Regions from separate parts of the Homo sapiens genome. Here all the other regions are linked to region 1. Evidence: promoter capture Hi-C in 16 types of primary human blood cells and fetal thymus (Javierre and others, 2016). All regions are on one chromosome and are shown on one strand. The core of a region is centred on a gene start or on the middle of the fragment in contact, and the rest is flanking DNA. Distances in the headings are between cores, read along the strand shown. Region 1 holds the start of LRATD2 (LRAT domain containing 2). Region 2 has its middle 170 kb from the start of LINC02964. Region 3 has its middle 190 kb from the start of LINC02964. Region 4 has its middle 210 kb from the start of LINC02964. Region 5 has its middle 32 kb from the start of LINC00861.

Region 1 (2,603 bases), core at 73-2,572:
TGTTGGATTCATTCAGTCACATGCGCCTGAGGCCAGCCAGTCTGAAATTATTGAAACAGAATCGCACAGCACACAGTAGTCTCATGTTGATCTAACTTATACTTCAGACTTGCTGAAGGACTAATTTCTATCACAGCCCTGCCAATATTGATTGTTTGGACTCAAAATTACATAAGTAGAATGATTTTTATTTTTTTCTCCTAAACTAGAAAGGATCACAGTAGTGCTAGTATATTCCTGTTTCCACTGGCTGGTTATACATGCTGGAAAAAATTAGTCAAAAGAAAGCAACTGAAGACAGAATATAGGTCTTGAATCGCATTCTTAAGTCCCCTACGAATAAGTCTGGGTGCTTGCAGTAGTGCCTAAACTTGTTTATTGTAAACAGAGCTGTTAATCCTCCACCCTCACCGGACCCATTATTTTAAAAAAATAAACAACAACAACAACAAAAAAAACACTTTGGTAGCCTACATTTAGGTAAAAGAAACGAAACCAGTGGAGAGGTGGAAGTGTCCTTTTGTGGTGGAGGTTAGTAGGCATTACTGGTCTCCTGTCACTTCCCTAAGTCAACAGGAAGGAAATATATCCACTAGGGCCTCTGCTAATTTGTTTCTAATTTAAGGACAATTAGAATTAGGATGTAGGAATTAGGCAATTCCTACATCCCCTAACCCCCCACCCCCCCAAAAAAAAGCAGTCAGAGCTGCACGCTTCTCTCACTATCCAACGAACTGGTACCTCTCTGGAAATAACGGAGGTTATGAACTTTGTACTAACTTCCAGGGGTATCTAATAAACAGAGCGGTGGTCTTGGGACCCAGTCAGTGAATAAGTCTTCGTTCTGTTTTATACTGTTTCTTTTCTGCGATTTTCTTTTCTACCCCAAAGTTTCCCACTACTAACTCTGAAAACACCTCTAGGATGACGCACTCTTCGAGCTGTCCTGGTGAAGAATCCTTTCTTGTGACCTTTAGGGCAAGAAATATGTTCCAGGAAAGAAAAGAAACGACTGTTCCTCCTTCTCCAGGTACTCTGGGAAAAAACAGGTCAAAGGGAAAAGGCGCAAACACCAAACTCTCCTTCCCTTTCTCATTTCCACACTGGCAAGTTGTGTTTGCCTTCTAACTTGTCTCGGAAGGCAAGCAGAGCTCACAGCACCAGCCCCAGGCGGCGGGTGGATTATTTACAGGGGGATTTAAACCCGCTCCGGCGCGGGGGCGTGGCCGGGCGGAGTCCCGAGGCCCGAGTGGGCGGGGCGGGGGCGGGGCTCCCGGCCGCTCGGCGCAATGTGAAAAAGACCCGAGCTCGGGGAGTGAGCGCCTGTCTCTTTAAATGCCACGGGCTGCGCTCCCGCCCGGGAGCCCGGAGCCGGATCTACAATCCCGTCCCTCCAGCTCCGGTGCTTGTTGCTCGCCCGGCCCAAGCGGGAGCTGTTGCCGCCAGGCTGCGAGGCTGCCGTCCTCTCCTCCTCGCGCCCCACCTCCCCCGAGAGCTGGCTGAGGAGGGGCAGCAGCCCCAGCTGGCGGGAGGAAGCGCGGTGTGAACAGGGATTGCCCCCCGCCTTCAAGTATCGGGGCGCTACGCAGCCGCGGGGGAAAGACATGCCCCTAGTCTGCCCGCTGCGCTGCCCTCTGCCCAGCCTCGCTGCCGCCCGCGCCGGGAGAGGAGGGACTGCCGAGCCTACACCTTCAAACTCGCCCTAGAAGTCTCGGGGCGCGGCAGGGAGCCCTTCCCCAGGCCCCACGGCCTTCACCTCTCCGCGGGTGAGTTTGTGCAGGTAACCCGAGCCTGAGGGCGGGCGCGGGGGAAGGGCGGGCGAGCCGGGAGGAGGTAGCGCTGCAGGTGAGCCAGGTAGGGTGACTCACCTGTCCAGGTCGCGCTCTGAGATCCTCGCTTGTTCCTCTGGGGATGGATGCGTTGGTGGGGAGGAGGCGTCCCCGGGGCTAGTTAGGGCCCGAGGGTGGGAGGGGAAGTTAGCAGAGGAGGGGGGGGATTGGCGTAAAGTTTCTCTTTCCTTCCCTCTTCCTGCCCAAGCTTGGCAGGTAGGGCGCAGGCGGAAGCAGTAGAAGCTGCTGATGCAATGGGCTTTTGCCAGGGCCAGGCGAAGGGCTGGGGACAGGGAGAACAGGAGTTGCCCAGTCTCCTGTGACCGTGACCTTACAGGTGGAGAAACGAGGGAAAGCTCGCTACACCCGAGACTTCCCCCTAAAATGGCTCCAGGTGCTGAGCCCCCACCGATTCTTTTTCGGAACAAAACGCCCTTTTCACGGAGGGGCTCCTGCATGGCTTTCTTGCCTTCCTCTCCCAACAGGTAGCCTCAGCCCCTGTCCGGGGACCTGTGCAAATGACCCTGGAGTTGGTTTCGCTTTCTCCCCTTGCGGCGGTGTGAACGTGTGTCCGCAGCGTGATGGGCAACCAGGTGGAGAAATTGACCCACCTAAGTTACAAGGAAGTTCCCACGGCCGACCCGACTGGCGTGGACCGGGACGACGGGCCCCGCATTGGGGTCTCCTACATTTTCTCCAATGACGATGAGGACGTGGAGCCGCAGCCGCCGCCTCAGGGGCCAGATGGCGGCGGCTTGCCCGACGGTGGGGACG
Region 2 (2,603 bases), core at 36-2,535, 870 kb after region 1:
ATATCCACCATATCTTCAAACCATCTCATTATTTTTAACTCAGATTTTATACATCATTTTTATTCCAATCAACATGCTTTTGTAACTTTAAATAATCTGTTTTTAAATATCCTTTATACCAGTACCACAAATGCAAATATATTGAAAGGAAATATGACAGGCTGTTTAACAGGAACATGGGCCCTGGAGCCAAAATTGTCTGATAGAAACCCCATCTCCACTGTTTGCCAGCTATGTAAATTTAGACAGTTTGTAAGACTCCTTAAAGTTTCTGTGTGTCAACATCCCCATGTGTACAAAGGGGATAATAAGAATATCTAAAGATAAGGCTGTTGTGATGATTAAATGCTTTGCTGTAAAGCACTTACAACAGTACCCAGGACAAAGTAAGCCCTCAGTAAATGTGAGATATTCTTTTTTTTTTTTTTTGAGATGGAGTCTCATTCTGTCACCCACGCTGGAGAGCAGTGGCGCGATCTCGGCTCACTGCAACCTCCACCTACTGAGTTCAAGCAATTCTCCTGCCTCAGCCTCCCAAATAGCTGGGACTGCAGGTGTGCACCACCATGCCCAGCTAATTGTTGTATTTTTAGTAGAGATAGTGTTTCACCGTGTTGGCCAGGATGGTCTCGATCTCTTGACCTCATGATCCATCTGCCTCGGCCTCCCAAAGTGCTGGGATTACAGGCGTGAGCCACCACACCCAGCCCAAATGTCAGTTATTCTTGTTGTGACAAATAATTAAATAAATAAATAAATAAATAGTATCACTTGCTACAGATAGAAAATAACCACCAAAAAATGCATAACTGTGAAAAGTTATTAAAAGTTCATCCACGCACCATCAAAGGCATCTGTGTGTCATCAGTAGTATACATTCCACACTCAGGCAAACACTGTTGCAGAAAGTGCCAAGAAACTCTACCAAGTGGTGCTGTCACCGGGCAAACTAACTTGGGAGTTACTCTGGTGTTGCTTTAGACTTAATTCTGAGGTTTCCATTAACCTGAGAGCTGCATGTGTCCAGGGAAAATTCCCTTTGGAATCCACTGTTTTGGTTCATCCAAAAGCAGCTGGAAAACATCTGTGCCCAGGGATTAGGAACTGATTCCTCCTCTGTGGGAAAGAAAGCAGTCTCTCAAAGCGAGCTGCTCAGCAACAGGCTCATTAGCACTTTGTACTTCTTGAGGTTTGTTTATCTACAGATCTCAACATGCCTCAAAACATTCATTAATGCTCACAACACCCGGTCAGCCCAGAATCACAGTCCCCATTCTGCAGATGGGAAAATTGATAGAAAGGGCTATTAAGTGACTGCACTCTTAAGTGACTGAGCCATTAAGGCACTGTTGAGCAAAAGAAGAGTTGTGGCAAGAAGAAAAGTGATGACTCCTGAGGATCCGGGCCTGCAGTACCACCCCACTAATCAAGCATTCGCCCTGGGATGGAGACACGCAGATGGCAGGAGGCCACACGGTTCCCTTTATTGTTCCCATGACAGTGTGGGAACAGGATGGCATCTTTGGAGAGAATTCCAGAAGTGCCAGGCACTGGGCATTTCATACATTTTTACTGGATGAATATGTGGAGGGAATTTTCACGAAGGAGTCCAATTTCTCCTTCCCATCCAATTTCCCACAAGAGGAGTGAAGATAATTCCAGCAGGACCTAGAGCTAAGCCAGATTTGGTTGGGAAATTTATAGCCCAGAATAACAAACAGGTGCGTAGATAGTGTCAGGAAAGGAGGCCAAGAACATGAAGGCATCGCATCCAGGGAGTAAGATGAAGAATAGAACCAGAAAGCAGGACCATAGCTTGAAGCTATGGAAGAGGTTTAAAACAAGTTGTGAAGATGAGATGTATAAAGAATCTTCGAAATGTTCATTTCTTTTAACTCAAAAAAAAAAAAGTTAAGGAATCTCTTCAAAGCAAATATTAGGAAAATTATATAAAGGTTCCTATACAGTTGTATAAAAATATCTGTAAATATATTGTTTTAAAAGTGTAATCCAGGGCCAGGCGCAGTGGCTCACGCCTGTAATCCCAGCACTTTGGGAGGCTGAGGTGGACAGATCACAAGGTCAGGAGTTTGAGACCAGCCTGGCCAACATAGTGAAACCCTGTCTCTACTAAAAATACAAAAATTAGCTAGGCATGGTGGCACACACCTGTAATCCCAGCTACTCAGGAGACTGAGGCAGGAGACTCGCTTGAACCCAGGAGGCGGAGGTTGTGGTGAGCCGAAATGGTGCCACTGCACTCCAGCCTGGGCAACAGAGCAAGACTCCATCTCAACAACAACAACAAAAAAAGTGTAATCTATACTAACAAAAATTAGAAATAGGCCGGCTACAGTGACTCATGCCTATAATTGAGGATTTTGGGAGGCAAAGGCAGAAGGATCACTTGAGCCCAGGAGTTTGAGACCAGCCTGGACAATAAAGTAAGAATTTGTCTCTACCGAAAAATGCAAAAAAAAAAAAAAAAAAAAAAAAAAAAAATATATATATATATATATATATATATATATATATATATATAAAATCTAAATATTCAGAATTAGGGATCGATTTAAAGAGGTTATGTTACGCCAATACTACAA
Region 3 (2,603 bases), core at 70-2,569, 840 kb after region 1:
TGCCCAGGTTGGTCTCAAACTCCTGGCCTCAAGCGATCTTCGCACCTCAGCCTCCCCAAACCCCTGAGATTACAGCGTGAACCAGCATGCCAAGTCCTATAATGGTAATTTTAAACGGTCATATTTGATCAGGTGCAGTGGCTCAAACCTGTAATCCCAGCACTCTGGGAGTCCAAGGCAGGCAGATCACTTGAGGCCAGGAGTTTGAGACCAGCCTGGGCAACATGGTGAAACCCCGTCTCTAATAAAAATATAAAAATTTTGCGGGTCTTGGGGGCATACATCTGTAATCCCAGCTACTCAGGTGGCTGAGGCAGGAGGATTGATTGAACCTAGGAGGTGGAGGTTGCAGTGAGCTGAGATGGTGCCACTGCATTGCAGCCTGGGTGACAGAGTCAGACTCTGTCAAAAAAAAATAAGGAAATCAACTACTTCTTTTTTTTTTTTTTTTTTTTTTTTTTTTTTGAGACGGAGATTCACTCTTATTGTCCAGGCTGGAGTGCAATGGTACGATCTTGGCTCACTGCAACCTCCACCTCCCAGGTTCAAGCAATTCTCCTGCCTCAGCCTCCCGAGTAGCTGGAATTACAGGCACCCACCACCACACCCAGCTGATTTTTTTTTTTGTATTTTTAGTAGAGATGGGGTTTTGACATGTTGGCCACACTGGTCTCGAACTCCTGACCTCAGGTGATCCACCTGTGTCAGCCTTCAAAGTGCTGGCATTACAGGCATGAGCCACCACGCCCAGCCATCAACTTCTATTTTTAGAAAGCTAGTAAGAAAAAGGAAAAACTCAAGCATCCATCCTGCCTTTCTCGTGCAAACAATACCTAAGGGTAACCAAATAATTAATAGGGAAAATATCTTATTATTAAATGATCCCATCTATTAAATGAAGAAAGGTTATAGAACTGGAATATAGAAGGAATATAGAATCACCATTTTGCAACCCTACTACAATGACAGATCCAGTCCAAGATTTGACAAGGTTTTTGTTAAAGGCCAGATAGTATTTTAGGCTTCACAGGCCTAAATGGTCTTTGTGGCAACTACTCACCTCTGCTCAAAAGAAGCCATAAACAATACACAAATGAATATGTATGGCTGCATTCCAATAAAGCTTTACTTACAAAAACGGGCAGTGGTCAGGATTTGGCTAATGGGCCACCACAGTTTGCTGACCTCTGATCTGGATGGTGGTCATCAATGTTTCCTAACATCTCAAAAAGAGAGACAATCCTACTGACCAAGCACTCTCAAGCACGATGCAGCTAACTTAAAAACAATAGCAAAAGAAAATCATATTCAGAAATGTTTAGTTACACTTCTAAAGATTTCAAAGATCAAAGAATAAATCAAAATGTAAATCAGAAAACGTTTAGAACTAAATGACAGCAAAAACACTGCATCGAGCTTGCAGAATTCACCTAAAGTGGTACTTAGAGGGAAACTATAGCCTTTAATATTACATTAGAAAAGAGGGAAGATTGAAAATTAATGAGATAAGCTTGCAAACATTTAGGGAACTAACAACAAAATAAATCCACAGAAGTAGAGGAAAATACATACTAAAGACAAGAGGAAAAGTTAGTAAATTGGAAACAAAAATACAAAACAGAGAAAAAAAAGAGCCAAAAGCTGATTATTTGAAAAGAACAGTAAAACAGACACAGCAGGTAAACCAGCTAACATTCACACTTCAAACAGTCAGGATAGAAAGGAACCAATAAATTTCACATTAAAAATGCTGCAAATGACAGATTGGAAAGATTAAAAAGAAAGGCAATATTTTGTTTACTAATGATTGCAAACAACAAGGATTTATTCCAGGGGTTCCCAATCTTTTACCTAGGTACATATAATTCTTCGTGTTTTATTCAGAATCCATTATTTTATACTTGATTCTGCCTCTTCATTTCTCCTACTCCACTGAACTTCCCTGCTCACCCTCAGCTGATTGATAACCTCATCTCAATGTCACTGAGGAAATAGAAACCATAGGTGGCAGTCCCCAAACTTCTCTCACTTCCCTAAATTTACTAACCCACCTGCCCTGGACCCATTTTTTTACAAGCTCAAACCCTTACAGTCACATTTACAAATGACTTTTCCTGGCCTCCCTTTTTGTAACTGGTGTTTGAAGATTTTCTTCCCAACGTTGTGCTCAGCAGGTCTCCTCCATCCCACTAACAATGTCATTAACACACAAGTGAACAGGTGCAGCTGCCTCTTACCCTGGCTCCCTGACTTCTGTCATTTTCCCCCAAATCACTCTAGCAACAACAGACAATCTAATTTCTATTTTTAAAAAGGTAAATGAAAGAAAATGAATCATGCTCTTCAGCTCCAAAGCCATCCACAATCCCTCCTGCCCATCATATGAAGACTAAACTTGGTGTTGGCCATGCAAGCCTCCAGCTTCCCCCCAGCCCTGTCCTCCACTGCACTCCTGCCTTTCCAGGATATCCTTTCCCTGCAGACTTGCTCATTGAAGGACCCCTTCCTGGGAACTGCCTACATCTCCTCCCTCTCTCCCAAACTCCCATGAACTTCATCTATATAAAGGATTTGGGGGCCTCACTCATTGTATTAGTCTGTTT
Region 4 (2,603 bases), core at 38-2,537, 830 kb after region 1:
GGAAATAGACAAGCCCAGTCACTCAAGTGCATCCCAAGCCTCCATCTGTGCTCACTCACTAACAAGCCATTGGACAAAACAAGCCCTAAGAATGAGACGAGCCCAGAGACAAGAAGTGAGGAAGTGTGGCTGACCACAGTGGAAGGACATTGCAAAATTACATGAAAAAGAGCTGGATACAGAGAAGGGTAAAGAATTGATGGCATTAATTCCTCCAATACCAGGAAGGAGGAGGAAGAGCAATTAAGCCAGGTGTTTTGCATACATGTCCAACAATCCCAATTCTTTACCTTGCTGTTTCTGCAAGGCCACATGCTGGAGCAGAACAGTGCCTGCACTCCTTTAAATAGGATGTGGATCTCTGGTTCATCAGCCCCAATCAGGTCTGCTTCCTTCACACATAGGAGGCACTCCAGCGTCTGTCTGGCTCCTGAGGGCATTGGAGGCTAACACTACCATCATAAAATACTCTTAACATTGCAGGTGGCATGCATACCTGACAGTACCCAAACCAAGGAGTCTCCTACCAAGTAAAGGAAGTATTGCTAATTCAGTTGTCTTATGAGATAAATAGCTAAATAACAATGTGGCCCTTGTTTGAACATTCTAAACTTGGTGAAGTATAAACATGAAACATTTACTCTAATTGTTGCCTTCAATGTGGCTATGTTAAGCCTCCTCCTCAGTCCACCTGAAGACACAGTGTCCTGTTTAATTTGGCCTTCGCATTGCCCCCTCCTCTCAGTGCTCACTGTATCTTGTCCTGAAGAAATTGGAGAGAGGAGGGGCTGCTACATTCCGTCCTTCCCTCCCCCGTCTCCGTCTCCAGGGAAGGGAGATGTCTTCTCCAGGGAGGAAGGAAAAAGTTATTTTACTTGACGGATCATTGTAGGCCACCTATGAGCTCCAAGTAGTTGGTACTCCAATGCTCGCTGTCCCACGGGTGCACATAGGAAGCCCTCTGGGGTCTCTCCACTGCACTATTTCCTAATGTGAGAGATGCACTCTAAAATATCTCCCAGTTCCTCCATAGACACACTCACGTCTCTCGCCCTGGCAACCCACCCCACGGGCTGCACACCAGCAACACGATGTGTCAGACACCTTTGATCCCCATCTCTCATCCTCTCAGCCACCACTGTGCTCCGGCCATTATCATAGCAACTAGTGATAGCACCCTGCCTCTGCTGCAGGCATCTCTTGCTTTCTGTCTGGGGCCTCTCACCTTATGAGCTGCATGCTGGAGTCTGGTCAGCCACTCTGGTGCATGTGCAAACCAGAAGTGCAAGCACAATCGCACCTCCAGGACCCTACATGACGAATGAAAACTAAAACACAGTTTTCTACGTCTTCCGTTAACAATTTCAAGGCGGCATCCCAACTGTTGCCCATAGCGGCAACACAACTGCCCGCAGCAGTGACCTGCTCAAGAATGCACCCATGGGATTGGCTTTCCCTCCTTCCATATCACTTTTCCCATCCCTCTGTTCCTGATCCCCAGAATGTTTATGACAATTCACTAAGTTAATATAAATGAATACTTAGCATGGTTCTTGGCACATAATGGTGAACAAGTATTAAGTATCACTGTAACATTCTATTGGATGTGTTTCTCAAATAATTACAGAACTTTCAAAATATTGCATAAAAATGTAAAATATATATAGTACACATTTGTTATATGTATTACACATGAATATATATAGTACACATTTGTTATACATATTACACATGTAATATAAATGATAGCCACTGTCTACATGTAGCTTTTGAGCATTTGTTGGTGCCACATGTTCAAATGTTTTCCATGTATGGGGTTACATAAAATATACTATTAAAATTAATTTCATCTGTTTTTTCATATTATTAATATAAAAATTTTATGTTAATGTTAACAGACATGTTATGTTATATTAATATGTGGTAATTTACAATGTTAGTGTTTCAAACAAAAATGTTTAAGTTACATATGTAGCTCACATTATATTTTTATTGGACAACACTGCTATATAAGGTGCTTAACACAGTACCTAGAACAGAGTAAATTTTCAATAAAATCATTACTTTACTCAAAGTTATCTCATCTAATCCTATGAGGTAGGTGCTATTACCCATTTTACTGATAAAGAAACTGATGCATAGCCAAGCAAGTAAATAACCTGTAGGCAGCTCCAGTGCCAGGCAGTGGTAGTAGAGCTGGGACTCCGATCCTGTCCCTGCATTTCCAGAGCTTATGCTCTCTCTCCTATGATATGTTCACTGTTTTGAAGACATCGGTTATCTGATTCTCCTAAGTGACCCACTGCAAAAACCTGAAACTCAAAGTTCCTGGGATTCGTCCCAGTGGGGAGCAAGGACACACAGTTTGGTTTGACCATGGCAGGTTCCTCAGCTGGGCTTGAGGGGAGAAACTTCCCACAGGGCAGGGACCTGGAAGATGGGAACATCTCCTGAAGGGGAGGGAAGCTGATGAGTTTCAGAGACCAGCACCAAGACAGGCAGGGACCCTGGGTACTGGGCCCTGAGTGAGAATCACTTCCTGATTTGATCACAGGTTTTCACATGACTTTGGTTTTTTCGGCAGCTCCATCCTTATTAATATT
Region 5 (2,603 bases), core at 49-2,548, 640 kb after region 1:
TTGGGATGATGGAGTGGGCTGAGTTTTAAGACTATTCTCCGTCTGTTTATAATATTCTCTGGGTGACCACGTCACCAGAAACCTCTTGCAGTATTGAAGTCCAAATCCAACACAACTCTGTCACCAATCTATAAGCTCCATTTACCTCCATATTCCTAGTGAGTACATCATAACATCAGAGATACACAAAAGGCCGGGCGCAGTAGCTCACGCCTGTAATCCCAGCACTTTGGGAGGCCGAGACGGGCAGATCACGAGGTGAGGAGATCGAGACCGTCCTGGCTAACACAGTGAAACCCCGTCTCTACTAAAAATACAAAAAATTAGCCGGGCGTGGTTGCAGGTGCCTGTAGTCCCAGCTACTCGGGAGGCTGAGGCAGGAGAATGGCCTGAACCTGGGAGGCAGAGCTTGCAGTGAGCTGAGATCGCGCCAGTGCACTCTAGCCTGGGCAACAGAGCGAGACTCTGTCTCAAAAAAAAAAAAGAGATACACAAAAATTACTTACAGAAATAATAGGAATTATTTTGTGAAGTCCAAATAATATATATCAGGTTTTATTCCATGGTGTTATGTTTACAAGCAATTACTTGACTTGCAAAATCTGCTTGATATGAAGTGTGTTGTAATGGTTTTCTGCTGCTACTCCTCTGAAGTCCTGAGTGTTTCCACCATCCAGGGGGAAACAGCTAATATCTATCTGCCTGTTCTAAAACATTACGTGCAAGTACATACACACATAATCCCTTTCCATCTTCTGAGATTTAGCAAACGATTACATGTTGAACAATTTAGCAGTCTATTGAGTGACTTTTCATTTGCTATTAAAGTACGCAGATATATGGTCCTAGGGAATGCGCATGGGCTTTCGTTGTATATCTTGGGACCTACAATTTCTGGCATGTTAGGCAAGTTACTTAACTCTGAGGTTCTATATTTTGAACTGTAAAGTGAAAATGATGATAGTCATTGAGTTGCAAGGAAAGAAATTATAATGAAGTCATGAGGGGTCAGGTTTCCTGAGTTCGAATCCTTCTTTCACCACTGTAGTGGATGCTGTAGTGCTCCACTCAGATTCCAGAACTGAGAAACTCATGCCCATGGCTGCTGGAATTATGGGTTGTTGATATCTCACAGCCAAGTTTCTTCTCAGGAAATGTCCTCTCTTGGTCAAAGAGAGCTGCTCTGTCTAATGCTACACCCTTCTCCTGGGGACAGTCTGAAAGGCTTCAAAGTCTTGGCATTCCTTCTTCAATTCAGCCCTCCAGAAATGCCTGGGAAGTCACCTGTAACCAGTCTGACCCAGTCTTGCTTCTCTGACCCCCTGACAGGTCCTGGTCCAGAAAACACCCCCAATAAACTTTACACAAATAAATTTCCAATTCCGAGTCCGCTTCCTGGAGTCTTGGTAGTTCTGTGAAATTTACAGCTTATTGCATATAGAGGTCACATATATAATTACACATGGTGGAATTGAAATTGAAATTCTGATAAGAATCCTGTGATTTCGAGTCCAGGTCTCCTGTTGGTCTCCATGATTCTATTTCATTCATGAAATAGGTTGGAGGAACTCACAACACAATAGACCCCATATTTCAGCTCATTAATAATCAACATATTCTGGTCTCAGTGGCCATTATTTTTAAGAAGTTGTATACAACATTATAATCAGTGTGATCTAGTCAGGTTTTTCTACTACAGTGGGGCAGCCTGGAACTCAGTCAGATATACTTGTTTTTCTCAAGTCTTTATGAGATTCATTTTCATATTTTTAAAATTACATTTTGAACCGACACAGAGCGCAATTTTGGAGAGGTGATCCTATAAACGAACAAAGGTCACTGCCATTCATTCCTTCATTTACGGTTTTTTATTTTTTTTTAGACGGAGTCTTGCTCGGTCGCCCAGGCTGGAGTGCAGTTAAATGAAAAAACGTACCCAGACAGAGGTTCTAAAACAGCACCAAAATATTAATTTAATGAGTGGAGATTAGTTTTCTTTATCAACACTACAATTTTCTTTTCTTTTTTTTTTTTTTTTTTTTTTTGAGACGTAGTCTCACTCTGTCGCTCAGGCTGGAGTGCAGTGGCACAATCTCGGCTCACTGCAAGCTCCGCCTCCCGGGTTCACACCATTCTCCTGCCTCAGCCTCCCAAGTAGCTGGGACTACAGGTGCCCACCACCACGCCCAGCTAATGTTCTGTATTTTTAGTAGAGATGGGGTTTCACTGTGTTATCTAGGATGGTCTCGATCTCCTGACCTCATGATCTGCCCGCCTCGGCCTCCCAAAGTGCTGGAATTACAGGTGTGAGCCACATTGCCCGGCCCATTTATGTTGTTTTTAATCCATCTAACCAGCCACCATATATTGTGTGCTTCCCATGTACCACAACACATTCTGAGAACTTGCCACACATGCTCTACTTTCGTCTTCACATCAACAATGTGAATCTTAAGCTGTGCTGAATTTTGTCCAAAATGACTCAGATAGGAAAAGGCAGAATAAGGAATACATTCCAGTTGTCTCCAAAGTCCACCCTTTTCTAAGTGTCACATTATATTGTCCTTGCCACTGGCACACAGCTTAAATAAAAGTCAAACCAT

The links. The method cuts DNA at HindIII sites, captures the fragments that hold promoters and counts their contacts. A CHiCAGO score of 5 or more calls a contact.
Region 2: a fragment that was not itself captured here is called in contact with the fragment with the promoter of LRATD2 in region 1 in 1 of 17 cell types (total CD8 T cells); the score reaches 5.2 in total CD8 T cells.
Region 3: a contact is called between a fragment that was not itself captured here and the fragment with the promoter of LRATD2 in region 1, in 4 of 17 cell types (M0 macrophages, M2 macrophages, naive CD4 T cells and 1 more). The highest score is 6.6, in M0 macrophages.
Region 4: a contact is called between a fragment that was not itself captured here and the fragment with the promoter of LRATD2 in region 1, in 6 of 17 cell types (naive CD4 T cells, naive CD8 T cells, activated CD4 T cells and 3 more). The highest score is 7.1, in naive CD4 T cells.
Region 5: a fragment that was not itself captured here is called in contact with the fragment with the promoter of LRATD2 in region 1 in 3 of 17 cell types (megakaryocytes, M2 macrophages and naive CD8 T cells); the score reaches 7.9 in megakaryocytes.

Annotation. Positions count from the first base shown.
Region 1 is chr8:126,557,197-126,559,799 of GRCh38, reverse strand. LRATD2 (LRAT domain containing 2) reads left to right here and starts at 1,322. Exons shown (of 2, transcript NM_174911.5): 1 at 1,322-1,766; 2 at 2,315-2,603. The coding sequence starts at 2,411. LOC105375751 (a long non-coding RNA gene) reads right to left here and starts at 1,924. Exons shown (of 6, transcript NR_188069.1): 1 at 1,869-1,924. RefSeq lists a silencer at 1,190-1,369 and an enhancer at 1,084-1,920. The HindIII fragment of the contact is 2,746 bases long and covers 1-2,039 here.
Region 2 is chr8:125,690,355-125,692,957 of GRCh38, reverse strand. No RefSeq gene overlaps it. Among named protein-coding and RNA genes, the nearest start is that of LINC02964, 170 kb to the right of the region's middle. The HindIII fragment of the contact is 6,595 bases long and covers 1-2,603 here.
Region 3 is chr8:125,713,349-125,715,951 of GRCh38, reverse strand. No RefSeq gene overlaps it. Among named protein-coding and RNA genes, the nearest start is that of LINC02964, 190 kb to the right of the region's middle. The HindIII fragment of the contact is 387 bases long and covers 1,126-1,512 here.
Region 4 is chr8:125,730,183-125,732,785 of GRCh38, reverse strand. No RefSeq gene overlaps it. Among named protein-coding and RNA genes, the nearest start is that of LINC02964, 210 kb to the right of the region's middle. The HindIII fragment of the contact is 4,498 bases long and covers 1-2,603 here.
Region 5 is chr8:125,918,289-125,920,891 of GRCh38, reverse strand. No RefSeq gene overlaps it. Among named protein-coding and RNA genes, the nearest start is that of LINC00861, 32 kb to the left of the region's middle. The HindIII fragment of the contact is 5,423 bases long and covers 1-2,603 here.